Linked DNA regions of Homo sapiens: all the other regions are linked to region 1. Evidence: promoter capture Hi-C in 16 types of primary human blood cells and fetal thymus (Javierre and others, 2016). All regions are on one chromosome and are shown on one strand. The core of a region is centred on a gene start or on the middle of the fragment in contact, and the rest is flanking DNA. Distances in the headings are between cores, read along the strand shown.

What was found. Contacts are between HindIII fragments. The CHiCAGO score rates a contact against its expected background, and 5 or more counts as called.
Region 2: a contact is called between a fragment that was not itself captured here and the fragment with the promoter of ALG12 in region 1, in 6 of 17 cell types (total CD4 T cells, naive CD4 T cells, non-activated CD4 T cells and 3 more). The highest score is 7.8, in total CD4 T cells.
Region 3: a contact is called between a fragment that was not itself captured here and the fragment with the promoter of ALG12 in region 1, in 17 of 17 cell types (naive CD4 T cells, activated CD4 T cells, M0 macrophages and 14 more). The highest score is 13.7, in naive CD4 T cells.

The regions. Positions count from the first base shown.
Region 1 is chr22:49,916,026-49,920,239 of GRCh38, reverse strand. ALG12 (ALG12 alpha-1,6-mannosyltransferase) reads left to right here and starts at 1,802. Exons shown (of 10, transcript NM_024105.4): 1 at 1,802-1,977. It overlaps CRELD2 (CRELD disulfide isomerase 2), which reads right to left and starts at 1,606. Exons shown (of 10, transcript NM_024324.5): 1 at 1,342-1,606; 2 at 928-1,010; 3 at 400-510; 4 at 1-84. The coding sequence starts at 1,470. RefSeq lists silencers at 1,403-1,902, 2,013-2,212. The HindIII fragment of the contact is 6,188 bases long and covers 1-4,214 here.
Region 2 is chr22:49,814,273-49,818,486 of GRCh38, reverse strand. All of the region lies in intron 2 of BRD1 (bromodomain containing 1), which reads left to right. It also overlaps the pseudogene LOC100420885. Among named protein-coding and RNA genes, the nearest start is that of BRD1, 11 kb to the left of the region's middle. RefSeq lists enhancers at 1,982-2,524, 2,525-3,068. The HindIII fragment of the contact is 7,778 bases long and covers 1-4,214 here.
Region 3 is chr22:50,014,559-50,018,772 of GRCh38, reverse strand. It overlaps TTLL8 (tubulin tyrosine ligase like 8), which reads left to right. Exons shown (of 14, transcript NM_001350317.3): 14 at 1-198. Among named protein-coding and RNA genes, the nearest start is that of IL17REL, 3.9 kb to the right of the region's middle. RefSeq lists an enhancer at 1,413-1,472. The HindIII fragment of the contact is 6,527 bases long and covers 1-4,214 here.

The sequences.
Region 1 (4,214 bases), core at 553-3,052:
TCGGGACCGTAGGTTCCTGGAGAGCAGCACACTTTCAGTGTCTTCACACAAAACCACTCGAATAAGTCAGGATATTCGCTCTTCCTGAGGATGGAGGAAAACATTCACTGAATCCCAGCAGACACGGTTCTTTAAAACAAACATGCAGCTGAACGTAACATATGCTCTGGAGTATTGTAAGGTCCAGGAAACAAGAGTCTAGGTGTGGACAGAATCTTCTCCTTAATTTCCTGGTTTTGATCGCTGACTCTGGTGATAAAAAACGGTAATGCAGGGGTAAGGTGGGTGCGAGGCAGGTGGGAGCTCCCTACTGTTCCTGTACCTTTCTAAGTCTGAGGTTATTTCAAATTCTAAGTTGGAAAATAAAAAGTATCTTCTAAGAGGTTTTAAGGCACTCACAGCTGCAGCCACCAGGCCTCCAGGTGCTCCTCCTGCGCCTCTAGCATCTGATTGCATTCGAAGTCGCTGCTCTCGCACAGCCCCTCCAGGATCTCCAGCAGGCGAATCTCGCTGAAACACAGGCCCACACCGGCCCACCGTCAGCGCCTCCAAGGCAGTGAAGAAAAATCCGAACCAATACGCCAACCTGGGTGCAGGGGCCGGGGAGCCAGGACTCCGGGCACAGAGAATAAGGGGACCCCACTGTCAGGGGAAGCCAGGAGCGGTTCCCACAAGTGGGGCTGGTGTTCCAGTTTACATTTTGAAAAGCCACTGTCTGTTGAGGGGGTAGGGACCAGAGCAGAAGCTGGAAGGCCAGAGAGGGGCCAGCCATTAGTCCTCAGGGAGAAGCCGAGGTGACTCGGACGGGTGACTGGTGCCTCGGGGGCTGTTCTGTCTCCCTGTCATTAACACAGGCACCAAAGGCAGGACACGACTTCCCAGGACAGCGCCAGGCCAAGACCCACAGGGGTGCTCCAGGGCACCCACCTGGACTCGTACTTGGACAGCGTCTTTTCCTCCCAAGCCGTGTTCCCGCCGCCAAAGTTCTTCTTTGCGGTGTCCACCATCCCCTGCGAGGAGACAGTGCCCATAGTGCTTGGTACCACCTGACCCGGGTCCAGGGTGGGGGCGAGCCCAGGTCGAGGGTGAGGGGACTCCAGGCCCACGGTGGCGTCGACCCTGGTTCCACGGTGGGGGTGGATCCGGGTCAAGGGTGAGGGGGACTCCAGGACCACGGTGGAGGGACTCTGGATCGACGGTGAGGGGGATCCCGAATCCAGGGTGAGGGGGACCCCGGATCCAGGGTGAGGGCGACCCTGGGCCCAAGGTGGGGCGACCCCGGATGCAGGGTGAGGGGGACCCCGGGCCCAAGGTTGACGACCCCGCCCGGCCCCTTCCCACCTGGTTAAACTTGTCCACCAGCCCCCGGCACCGGTGGCAGGGCGTCGGCTTCTTGGCGGCCTCCGGCGCGGGCGGCAGCAGCAGCAGAAGCGGCAGGAGCCCCAGCGCGGCCCGGCGCGGCAGGCGCATGGCGGGTAGCGCTGCGGGAAGACGCAGCCGGAGCTCCAGGTCCTGCGGCCGTGCTGCTCCGGCCTCCCGGCCGCCCACCCGCTCCCAGCCGCGCCGGCCTGTCCCCCAGGCTACTTGACGGCGCCGGCGAGGCCCCGCCCCACCCGCCAGCCCCGCGCCGCTATTGGTTGATGGGACCCGCCCCGGCCTGATATGGCCCAATCCGAGTTCGCCACGAGAGGTGACCAATGGGAAGGCCCCGGATCAGCGGCCGCCAGGAGTCCGGGGGCGGGGCGTGCAGGTCCGACCCCGCCTCCCGCTCCCCGCCCCTCGCGCGCAGCCCGCGGCGGCCATCTTTACTCAGGGCACAGAGGGTCTCTGCGGCCGTAGCGGCCGGGGCTGCGGTAGCCACTTTAGATTTGGGCAAGGACTTTAGATTCGGGCTCTGTTCTGTTTCCGCCGTCCTGCTTCCTGCCGAGGCTGGCCCAGGCAGCCGCGCTTCGAAGGACGCCGCCGGGAGCTGCGGAGGTCAGTGCGCGCTGCCGCGACCGGGGCCTTCAGGCGGGCGCGCGGCGAGACCAGGGAGGAGGCGGGCGAGGGCGCGACCCGAGCTGGCGCTGGCGCTGGATTCCTGAGGCCTCACCGCGCATGTCCACGCGTCACAGCCCCGTGCTCCTTACCTGGGGCTGCACCCCTCACTTGGGGCCGGGCTCCTCACCTGGGGCTGGACCTGTCACCTGGGGGCCAGACCTCTCACCCGGGGGCCGGACCTCTCATCCGGGGGCCCGACCTCTCACCTGGGGCTGGACCTCTCACCTGGGGCCGGGCTCCTCACCTGGGGCCGGACCTCCCACCTGGGGGATGGGTTTTTCACCTGGGGGCTGGGGATCTGGGGTCCACTTAGGGTCTCTGGGGGCTGGGGATCTGCATTTCTACAGGCGCTTGAGGTGATGAACACTCGCTCATGTTCAGGAACCCCTGGTTTAAATTAGGGGAAATAAAACGTGCAGCGTCTGGATTTCAGAGAACTCCTGCCTGTGGAAGGAAGGAGTGCAGATAACACTGCACATTTAAAAAAAAAAAAAGTAACATCTGATTTGACCAGTTTCTTTTCTGTTTTTTTGAGACGGAGTCTCACTTTGTCGCCCAGGCTGGAGTGCAGTGGCGCGATCTCAGCTCACTGCAAGCTCCGCCTTCCAGGTTCCTGTGATTCTGCTGCCTCAGCCTCCTAAGTTGGGATTACAGGCACCCACCACCAGGTCCGGCTAATTTTTGTATTTTTAGTAGAGACGGGGTTTCACCATGTTGGCCAGGCTGGTCTCGAAGTCCTGACCTCAAGCGATCTGCCTGCCTCAGCCTCCCAAAGTGCTAGGGTTACAGGCGTGAGCCACCATGCTTAGCCTGATTTGATCAATTTCGGTAGAGGCCTTAAAATCTGGATTGATGGGGACAAGAGGGTCTTTGCAGGTCATTCCCTAATCTGAGATGCCATTGTTCTGTAAACCACCATTTTAAAGTGTCATGGCCTGGGCCCGTTTTAACCTGTGGGTGCTCTCGAAGCACCCGTCACTTAGATTAGCCACAGCTGCTGCCCAGCTGCCCAGCAGAGTGGGCTAGTGCAGGACAGTGTCCGTTCACCCTCGCCTGGTGGGGGGTTCGTCGTGGTTTTCGTGCTTGCTGGTGTTGACTTGGTCTTCCCGTGCTCCTGGCAGAGAATCCAGACTCACCCTTGGTCTTCTCATGCCCTCGAAAGTGAGCTGTGCTGGTCATCAGCAGAAGGCACACCTTGTTGGGTCCGAGGAGGTGCTGGGGGCCCGCCAGGAGTGTCAGAGTCAGCACGTAATGTTTTCACCCCACAGCTGAACTCTTCCTTGCTGGGGAACTCCCCTGGGTGGAGAGGTGTGGAGTGGGGTTGTGGGGGACTGCCAAGCAGCACTTGCTGTGTGCACCTCCCACATCTTGGCACGTAGATGCTCCCCGTTCCGTTTTATTTTTTATTTTTGTAGAAATGGGGTCTCATGATGTAGCCCAAGTTGGTCTTGAACTCCGGGCCTCAAGCAGTACCCCCCATGTCAGCTTCCTGAGTAGCTGGGATTATTTTTGTGGAGATGGGGTCTGGCTCTGTAGCCCAGGTTGGTCTTGAACTCCTGAGTAGCTGGAATTACAGGCGTGAGCCAACACATCCGGCTTGCTTCCTATTTCTTTTTTTTTGAGACGGAGTCTGGCTCTGTTGTCCAGGCTGGAGTACAGTGGTGCGATCTTGGCTTGCTGCAACCTCTGCCTCCCGAGTTCAAGCAATTCTCCTCCTCTGCCTTCCAAGTAGTTGGGATTACAGGCGCACACCACCATGCCCAGCTAATTTTTGTATTTTTAGTAGAGATGAGGTTTCACCATGCTGGCTAGGCTGGTCTTGAATTCCTGACCTTGTGATCCACCCACCTCAGCCTCCCAAAGTGCTGGGATTACAGGCATGAGCCACCACGCCCGGCCGTTGGAACATATTTTTATTTAATTTAATTAATTTATTTATTTATTTTTGAGATGGAGTCTTGCTCTGTCGCCCAGGCAGGAGTGCAGTGGCGCGATCTCGGCTCACTGCAAGCTCCACCTCCTGGGTTCACACCATTCTCCTGCCTCAGCCTCCCAAGTAGCTGGGACTACTCGCCACCACTCCAGCTAATTTTTTTGTATTTTTAGTAGAGACGGGGTTTTACCATGTTGGCCAAGCTGGTCTCGATCTCTTGACCTTGTGATCCACCCGCCTC
Region 2 (4,214 bases), core at 685-3,184, 100 kb after region 1:
TACATGGGGTGAAAAGACAAACAGGGTTTCCTGATAACTCTTTTTGGTTATTGCATGAAATGAGGGATAAATACACGCATAATCTGTTTAACAAAACTCCTAGGTTCATCAGAATGCAAAGTAGAAAGTGTCTTAAAAGAGACTGTGATCAGCAGGCAGACGGCCTGTGTCGGTTTGGTTCCTTTGACTGCTTCAGATCTTCTAGGAGGAGCTCCTCTACTACGAGAGCCTGGACTTCAGCCTCACGGACAAGAACCTCAGATAGGCAAGGCTTTGTGATGGGTGCTCCTCCTACCTTCATTCGAATGAGGTTTTCCTCCCGCCTTCACCCTGATAGGGTGCTCCTCCCGCCTTCACTGGTGTCATTTTATTTTGAGTTTAAAAGGATGAACTGGTCTTGGTCAGCCTTAGGAAGGGAAGCATCACTCAGGTGAAAATACGTGGCGAACTTTAAATACCTAGATATTCTCCTCATGCATTTAAATTAGAGTGACTTGAGCTGTTAGAAAAGTTGACTGGGTGCGGTGGCTCAGGCTAGTAATCCTAACACTGGAAGGCTGAGGTGGGTGGATTGCTTGAGCCCAGGAGGTCGAGGCTGCAGTGAGTTGTGATCGCACCTTTGTATTCCAGCCTGGGTGACAGAGTGAGACCCTGTCTCTAAGGGGTTTTGCATGGTTATCCAGAGCAGTCTCTTGAATTTTGGTTGTCTTTGACGCAGCTGCATCTGGAGATCCTCTATGTGAGGCATGTTTAGAGAAAGAGAAACATTGACCCCTGGAATTGATATTCTTCCAAGAAATCTTTTAGTCTTGTTGGTAAAGGCAGTCCTCAGATGGTACCGGTCCCTTTGTTAGTGGTGAGCCTACAGAGATGGTGCCTGGTGTGCAGAGCGATGTGGTTGGATGGAGGTGAACAGAGCAGTCTAGGGCCCCTGGGCCGCCTGCTGGTCCTAGCCCATCACAGCACAGTCATTCAGCAGACATGCTGCACCAGCTGATTGTTTGAGCTTGGGCTTGGTGCACATGATGGAGTTTGTCTGGATCTCCTGTCTTGGTATTCCATAGGAAGATGAGTTGGTCCAGCCCATGTCCTAATAGATGTTGTTAGCAGGAAGTCTGAACTTGAACTATCTCACATGAAGAAAGTTCCTTCTGCTGCCTCTTTTTATTTCTCTTTGGCTTCATGAACAGTCATGCACCCCCAGTGCCATCCTTTTGAGCTCCCCAAGGCCTCTGCCAGACACATCACCTCCAGGGGTGACTCCTTGACCCACCGTGCCATCACCACTGGCTCTGCACCCCTTCTGAGCCATTCCTGGAGCTTGAGGCACTGTGAGGTCAGGGGAAAAGGGTCAGCGTGGCAAGGAGAGATGGTCACCCAAGCTGGGGTCATAGAGCAGCTTATGGATTTCCTGGAAGTCAGTGGGAACTCATTTGGGAACCCCCAAAATGAGTCCCTGTGGGGTGTCTGAAATGGTGGCAGAAGGGGCAGGAATGGGGTCCGGCAGTTCTCTTCCCTCAGGTCCTGGCGGATGGATAGCAAAGTCCTGTGTAGACAAGGTCACCCACAGGTGGTATATGCCGGCTGCTAAGGGCCTTGGGTGGCGGGCCTTGGCCCCCGCAGTCCAGAGAGTGTCTGTTTACTATTCCCTGCAGGGTAGGCACCTTGGGCCCCAGAATTCGGAAGGCACTTTTTTCCTACCTGGACTCACTTCCTGCAGTGTTGGAGGCCACCTGGCCCTAGTCTATTTTATAGAGACAGGGTCTCACTATGTTGTCCAGGCTGATCTTGAATTCCTGGGCTTAAGCAATCCTCCTGCCTAGGCCTCCCAAAGTGTTGAGATTACAGGTGTGAGCCACCTCGCCCAGCCCCAGCCTTAGTCTGTAGTCTAATGCTGGAGGGTAGTATGTTGACTCTGGAATAAAGATGTCACTATTCTGGAACTTTTTCTGGGGTCACTGTCGGGAGGCGTTGTCTCCCTTGAGCACTTGCTGCAGCCCCAGGCTGTTGACCTGCACAGCCGTCCTCAGAGGGTGGGGAAGCTGTTCTGTCTTGGGGGCGTTGAGTCCACTAGGTAGGCCCTGTGAGGATCCCAGCTGTCACCTAGTGGGTACCTGCAGAGGTTTTGTTTTGTTCTTTTAATTGAGGCGGGGTCTTGCTCTGTTGCCCAGGCAGGAGTGAAGTGGCGCAATCCTAGGTCACTGCATCCTTGAACTCCTGGGCCCAAGTGGTCCTCAGCCTCCCAAAGTGCTAGGGTTACGGATTAGAGCCACCGGCCGCGGCCCCCTTTGGCTTGTGTTTTTAAGTCTTTTTTTCCTCCATGTTTCTGGCTGTTAATTTTTTATAAAAGTTTGTATCTGGCATGGATTGAAGCAGGAGACACTGGCTCAGTGCCCAGTGGGGAGAGCCCTGTGTGGGTACCTCCCGGGCGGTGTGGGTGCATGAGTTGGCTGCTGCGGGTGGCACCGGGAGGCCCTGTGTGGGTGCCTCCCGGGCAGTGTGGGTGCATGAGTTGGCTGCTGCGGGTGGCACTGGGAGGCATGGCAGGGGCCATGAGGCCACAGGTGGCAGCTCCCTGTGCTTGACCTGCATCGGGTCTGGAGTGGCGGGCACTCGGGAAGGAAGCGCCAGGACGACACATTGGAAGGAGGAGCTGCAGGGCAGGTCCAGCCAGTGCCTGGGAGCTCGGGAGGGCACCTGGGTGGACGCAGCCTGCAGGAGCGCCTGCTCTCCTGTATGAGGAACAGACCTGAATGCCGTTTCAGACACTGACTCATTCCTGCCCTCCTGTGACTTTGTTGGTTTTCTGGGTTTTAGTGCAGATTGTAGCTGGCAGCTCACAACAGAGCCCTTCCTGGTGCAGGCTGACAGGCAGGAGGGATTCTCCTCTACAGAAATGGACATTACTATATCTGGAAACAGTTTTTTTTTTTTTCTTCTTTTTGAGATGGAGTCTTGCTGTGTCGCCCAGGCTGGAGTGCAGTGGCGTGATCTACGCTCACTGCAACCTCTGCCCCCTGGGTTCAAGCGATTCTCCTGCCTCAGCCTCCCGAATAGCCGGAATTACAGGTGCACGTCACCACGCCCAACTAATTTTTGTGTTTTTAGTGGAGATGGGGTTTCGTCACGTTGGCCAGGCTGGTCTCGAACTCCTGACTGACCTAAGGTAATCCGCCTGCCTTAGCCTCCCAAAGTGTTGGGATTACAGGCATAAGCCACTGTGCCTGGCCTAGATTTGTTTTAATTGAAAAAGCTGAAGCAAATAAAAATTGTGCTGGGGAAAACTCTGAGTGCTCAGAGCATGGGCTGCGTTTCTCACTGGCCTCACCGCACCTTCCTCTGCACTCAGACTCTCCTAAAGATGCTGGCATTTACTGAACTAAAGGTAGCATTTCGCAGAGCAGGGCCGTGGGCCATGAACCACAGTCATCTGGCCATTTAGACAGCTCTGCCCTGCCCCCGGCGACTTGGGTACCCAACCATGTCATTCCCACCCCTAGCTTTGTGGGGCAACGTTCCTCTAGGCCGGGTTCTCTTCCCTGAAGCACCCCAGGCATGTAGAAGATGTTCTCAGCAGAGGGGAGACACCACAGTGTAGCTGATTTCTGTCTCTCTTCACTTTCACCATATTTACTTACTTTTGGTAGAAGTGGGGTTGAAAATTTATGTGAAGTTTTCTTTACTACTGGGGACAGCGGGGCAGATTACTGCCACACATAATCACCTCTGCTCCAGCCTAGGTGCTACCTGCTGGAGGCGATGGTGGCTTTCCTGAGAGCACCTCCTGGGCTCGGGCTGGTGGGGAGCTTGATTTTACCTTTTTATGTGGAAATAACTTCAAATTTACAAAATATTCACAAAAATAAAGAGAGCAGGGACTACCCAGGTGCTCTACATAGAGTTGCCTGTTGCTGGGGCTGCGTCCTCTTTTGCACACCCTGCCCCGTCGGAGAGGATCCCAGATGTGGCCCTTGCCCATGCACGTCAGGCATGTGAAAAGAGCAGGTGTCCCCTGGCGATGGGCAGCAGGCTTTGTGGTGCCCCAGCCTTGGTGCAGGAGTCCCCTGAGGTGAGATTCAGGGCTCTGGCCGGCTGGTCTCATGTGTTTCCTGAGCGATGGATGTGGGCACGGCGTCCTCCACCTCGCACCACCTGGCATGGGGTCTGCGTGTGTGTCATGCCAGGGTTCTGGGCCTGCACCGGGGGCTCCTGCC
Region 3 (4,214 bases), core at 861-3,360, 98 kb before region 1:
TCTCTGCAGCAGGAGTACAGGTTGCAGCCACTCTCCCGCCGAACATTGAATACGTCTTTCCACCATCTTGTCTTTGCTGTGGCTCTGGGAAAATCAGCAGAGTCAGCCATCACTCTCCAAGGGGAGCTGTCAGTTCTATCTGCCAGCTTTTGAGTGTTCAGTTTGATTTTTACTTATTCAACCTGGAATTTGAATGTCTTTGATGTGTGCGCTGGTGTCATTATTCAATTATGGGACTCTCTCAGCCATTATGTCTTTAAATATTGCCTCCACCCCGTTCTGTCTCTTTCCCTTTGGAATACAAACTAAATGTTTGCTAAGCCTTCTCTCTCTCCCGGTATCTTTTAGTCTCCCACTTCTTTGTTTGATTTATTTAGCTGCCTGTGCTGCATTCTAAAAATATCTCCTCGCCTGTCTTCCAGCTCATTTCAGAATGCTATCAACCCATTGAAGTTTTAATTTCTTAAAGTTTTCATTTTTAGAAGTTCTACTTTTTAATAAAATTATTTGATCTTTTTTCTTTCTTTTTTTTTTTTTCTGAGACAGGATCTCACTCTGTCACCCAGGCTGGAGTGCAGTGGTGCAGTCACAGCCTCCAACTGCAGCCTCCAACTCTCAGGCTCAAGCGATCCTCCTACTTCAGCCTCCTGAGTAGCTGGGACCACAGGTGTGCACCATACCCTGCTGTTTTTGATTCACCCTTGCACCCAGCTGTTTGGGGCTGCATATTGTTGGGGGCATGGGGTGTCTTCTGTCCCCACACTCCAGGGCCTTGGGACCCAGAGCTCCAGGTGGCCCTGGTGGCAAAGTCTCAGAGGGAGGAGCTTCGGGGCCGGGCACCTTTCAGAGCGCCCTCTCCTTGGGCTCACTCACCTTCCCTGGCCTGGACCTGGTCCTCCTTTACCGTCTTGCCTGCTGCTTTTGCTTGTTTTTGTGATGCTTTTCCTATCTTATGCCCTTATTTGGTGGTTTTCCCTGGAAGGGCTGGTCTGGGTCCCAGACTCCCAGGTACTGAGTGCACCCCATGGGCTTTAGTGGCTCCCCGGAGCCTGCTGACACCCCACAATGAGTCTCACCCCAGCCCTGGCCTCCATACAGGGTTGGGGCCCAGGCCTTGGGCCTCCCCTCCCTCAGCAGGGTCCAGGCCCCACACCAGCTGCTCGGTTAGCTCATGCATGCTCCATTAATCACGCACAGACACACGGAGAGCCGCAGACACCACGTCCCCTCCTCCTTCACTTAGGGTGGGCCCAGCCTCTGCCCCGACTTACTGGACACACACTTTCTGGGCACCCCGGTGGGTCCCATCAGGCCCTGGGTGCCTGGGGGACAAGGCCCTGCCCCGCAGTGCTACCTGGCCTGCTGCGCTGGGCCACCCTGGCAGATTTGACCTCCCAGTCCTGTGCCCGGCCTCCGTGCGTCTCTCCGCTGGGATGAGAGCCCTGGGGAGTGGGAGCTGTTCCCACCTCGTTCTTCCTGCTGCTCATGCCCTGCTTGTGCCACGTGGGCCCTGGCCTGTCCTATGGGCCAAGCTGGCCCAGCCCTTCCGAGGTTCCCGGAAGCCAAGGACTGCTTTGCATAGGCACTGGGGGCTCTCCCCACCCAGCCCCCCAGGAAGAGTGACTCAGCCTGGGGCTCGGAGTTTGCCGTGGGCGGTGGGTGCCCCAGCAGGGTGGTGCCTGCACTTCTGGGCTGGGCTGTGGCTGCTTGGGAACCTACAGCCCTGGCGGCTAGGAAAACCAGGGAGTCCCCTCTTCACCCCACATCCCTACCCCACCCTGGGGCTCCTTCTGTCCCTCCCCCACCAGCTATAGCTGCAGCAAGTGTGCAGGCTGGCCTTCCCCTAGTCCTTCCTGGCCTGGGCAACCTGAAGTTTGACTCACCAGCCCCAGTACATGGGGGACGGGGCTTGGCACAGGCTCACCCCACTGAGAAGGGCTGGCCAGGGACCCGGGACAGCCCCAGGGCAAGGACAGCGGTTGGAGGCCAGTGAGAGCCAGGCCAAGGCCCCAGCCTCTCGGATGAAAGGGACACATGGTGGTCACACCTGCCAGCCTTGCCTATCCTGTGACGCTCCGAGGAACTGCGTGAAAGTTCTCAAAACGCAGCAGCTCCCATGCAGGGGGTGGCCTTGCTGAGTGGCCAGCCCTGCGGTGGACGGCAGCTACCTGCTCTCACCCATCACGGCTGCCACCTTTGAGTCCATGCAGGAGAGGGCACGGTCTGCAGCCGCCTGCCACACCACGGGCACCACGTGGCCGCCTGCCAGACCACGGGCACCACGTGGGATGGTGGGCCTGGGGTGTGCTTCCTCCGGCAGCTCCTGGCATCAGAACTGCCCATGGGCCCTGGTGAGGTCTGACCACAGGTTGTGGGTAGCAGGTCTTCTAGCTCCACCAGGAGCCCCAGCCCAGGCCCACTTCGAAGGTGCCAGTGTGTCCAGATGGCCTGCACTGGGTGCAGCCTCTTGTGGGGACTCGGTGGCTCCTGGAGCACCCCCAGTCTTAACACTCCCACCTCCCTCCTGACCCCTCCAGCTGCTGACCCATCCTGGGACTCTGTGGCTGGCCCAGCATGCTGCTGGCCCTCGCCTGCAGGCACCGTCCTGAACCCACCACCCACTTGGTCCTGGCCCAGTGGGGATGGGTCCTCAGCACCAGGCATCTGAACCTGAGCCCAGGCACAGCAGGGCAGGACGAGTTGGGGTGGGGGCTGCTCTTCTCCAAATCTCCTGGCCGGTTGGGTCCTTCTAGGCAGGACTCACCTGGAGGAGGGCTGAGAGAGGCTGACAAGCTAGAGGCAGAGCTGGACTGCCCCTCTGGGGTGGGGGGCCAGGTGGAGGGGCGTTAGGGAGGGTGAGGGGGGTGGGGAAGGGGACCTCCCATCCGCAGAGCCTTCATCCCAGAGGGACGACACCCTACCCCCGCCCCCCTGCGTTTGAGTGGAGGTCTTGGTTTTCCGAAAGCTGGGGGAAGCAGGTGGGCTCCATGCAGGAGCGAGTTGGGAGCCACCTGGGGCTGGTCTTGCAGGTGATAAGGGTGACCCTGGGGGGCCTGCCTGGGGGCGTGGCCTTGAGGGGCGCGGGCGTCGCCTGTTGGTGGGTGTGGATTGAGGGACGGGTGGGTGCGGTCCGGGGACCTGGGGTCGAGGTCAAGGGGCGCTAGGCACAGTCAGGGGGCCTGGGGCGCGGTCGGGGGTGGGCTGGGGTAGGAGAGGACAGGGGCGAGGTTTCAGGGATCTGTGGGCTCAGGGTCTGTGGACGCAGTCCAGGGTTCCCGGGGGGTGTGGGAAGGTCAGTGGGCTGGAGGAGCGGTGGCGGGGGGCGGGGTGGGCGGGGCCCGGGGACGCGACTGCAGGTGGAGGAAGGCGCTGTAGGGGGTGGGGAGTCCCGGGGCGCGCCGGGGCGGGCGAGTGCTGTCGGGGTGGAGGGAGGCGCGGCCGGGGAATGTGGGGCCGGCGCACGCGGTCTCAGCGCCCCTCCCTCCCCAGGGCTGCCGAGGGACCCCCGAGCGCCGCCCTGCCTCGTGTGCCGCGGGCTGCTGCCACCCGCCGGGCCCTGCAAGCGCTGCCGCTCGTTCTGCGCCGCGGTCCTGCAGGGCGCGTCCTTCGTGCGGCTCGGCGGGCGGAGCTGCAGCCCGCGGACCCCGTGAGTCGGGACCGGCGCGGGGACCAGGACGACGACCCGGAGCCACGCGCGTCTCCGTGGAAACCTGCGCGGAGCTGAGGCCGAGAACACAGCGCTGTTGTGGTGAACCCGCGTCCTCGCCGTGGTTTTCTTGGGAACCTCGTGCCCAGCACCCCCGCACCCGCTCCGGACCCTCCGAGCCGCTCTGGGGAAGGCTCCAGCCCGGGTCCCGGGCGGACGCTGGTTCGTTCCTTCCCGCGTTCGTCCGACGAGTCTCGGCGCCGCCCAGGGTCTCCGCACCCCGTTTCCTCCCATCTGGTGCCCAGCGCGGGCGCGGAGGGAGCCCCCGGGGTTGGACCCTCAGATCCCTTCACCGTTGGGCTTCTGGGCGACCGATGGTCACTGGGCTGTGTGGCCGTGCTGCCCTGGAGACCCAGACTTGGAAAGACCCCACCCCCACCCCAGGCCTCGCCCAGCTGCGGTGGGTGATCTCGGTGGCCGGGGCCCGCCCAGGAGCCCGTGGCCTGGCTCTTCATGGATACTGAGCAGGGCCAATCCCCCAGCCCTCAGAGACAGGGCTGGAGCCCTC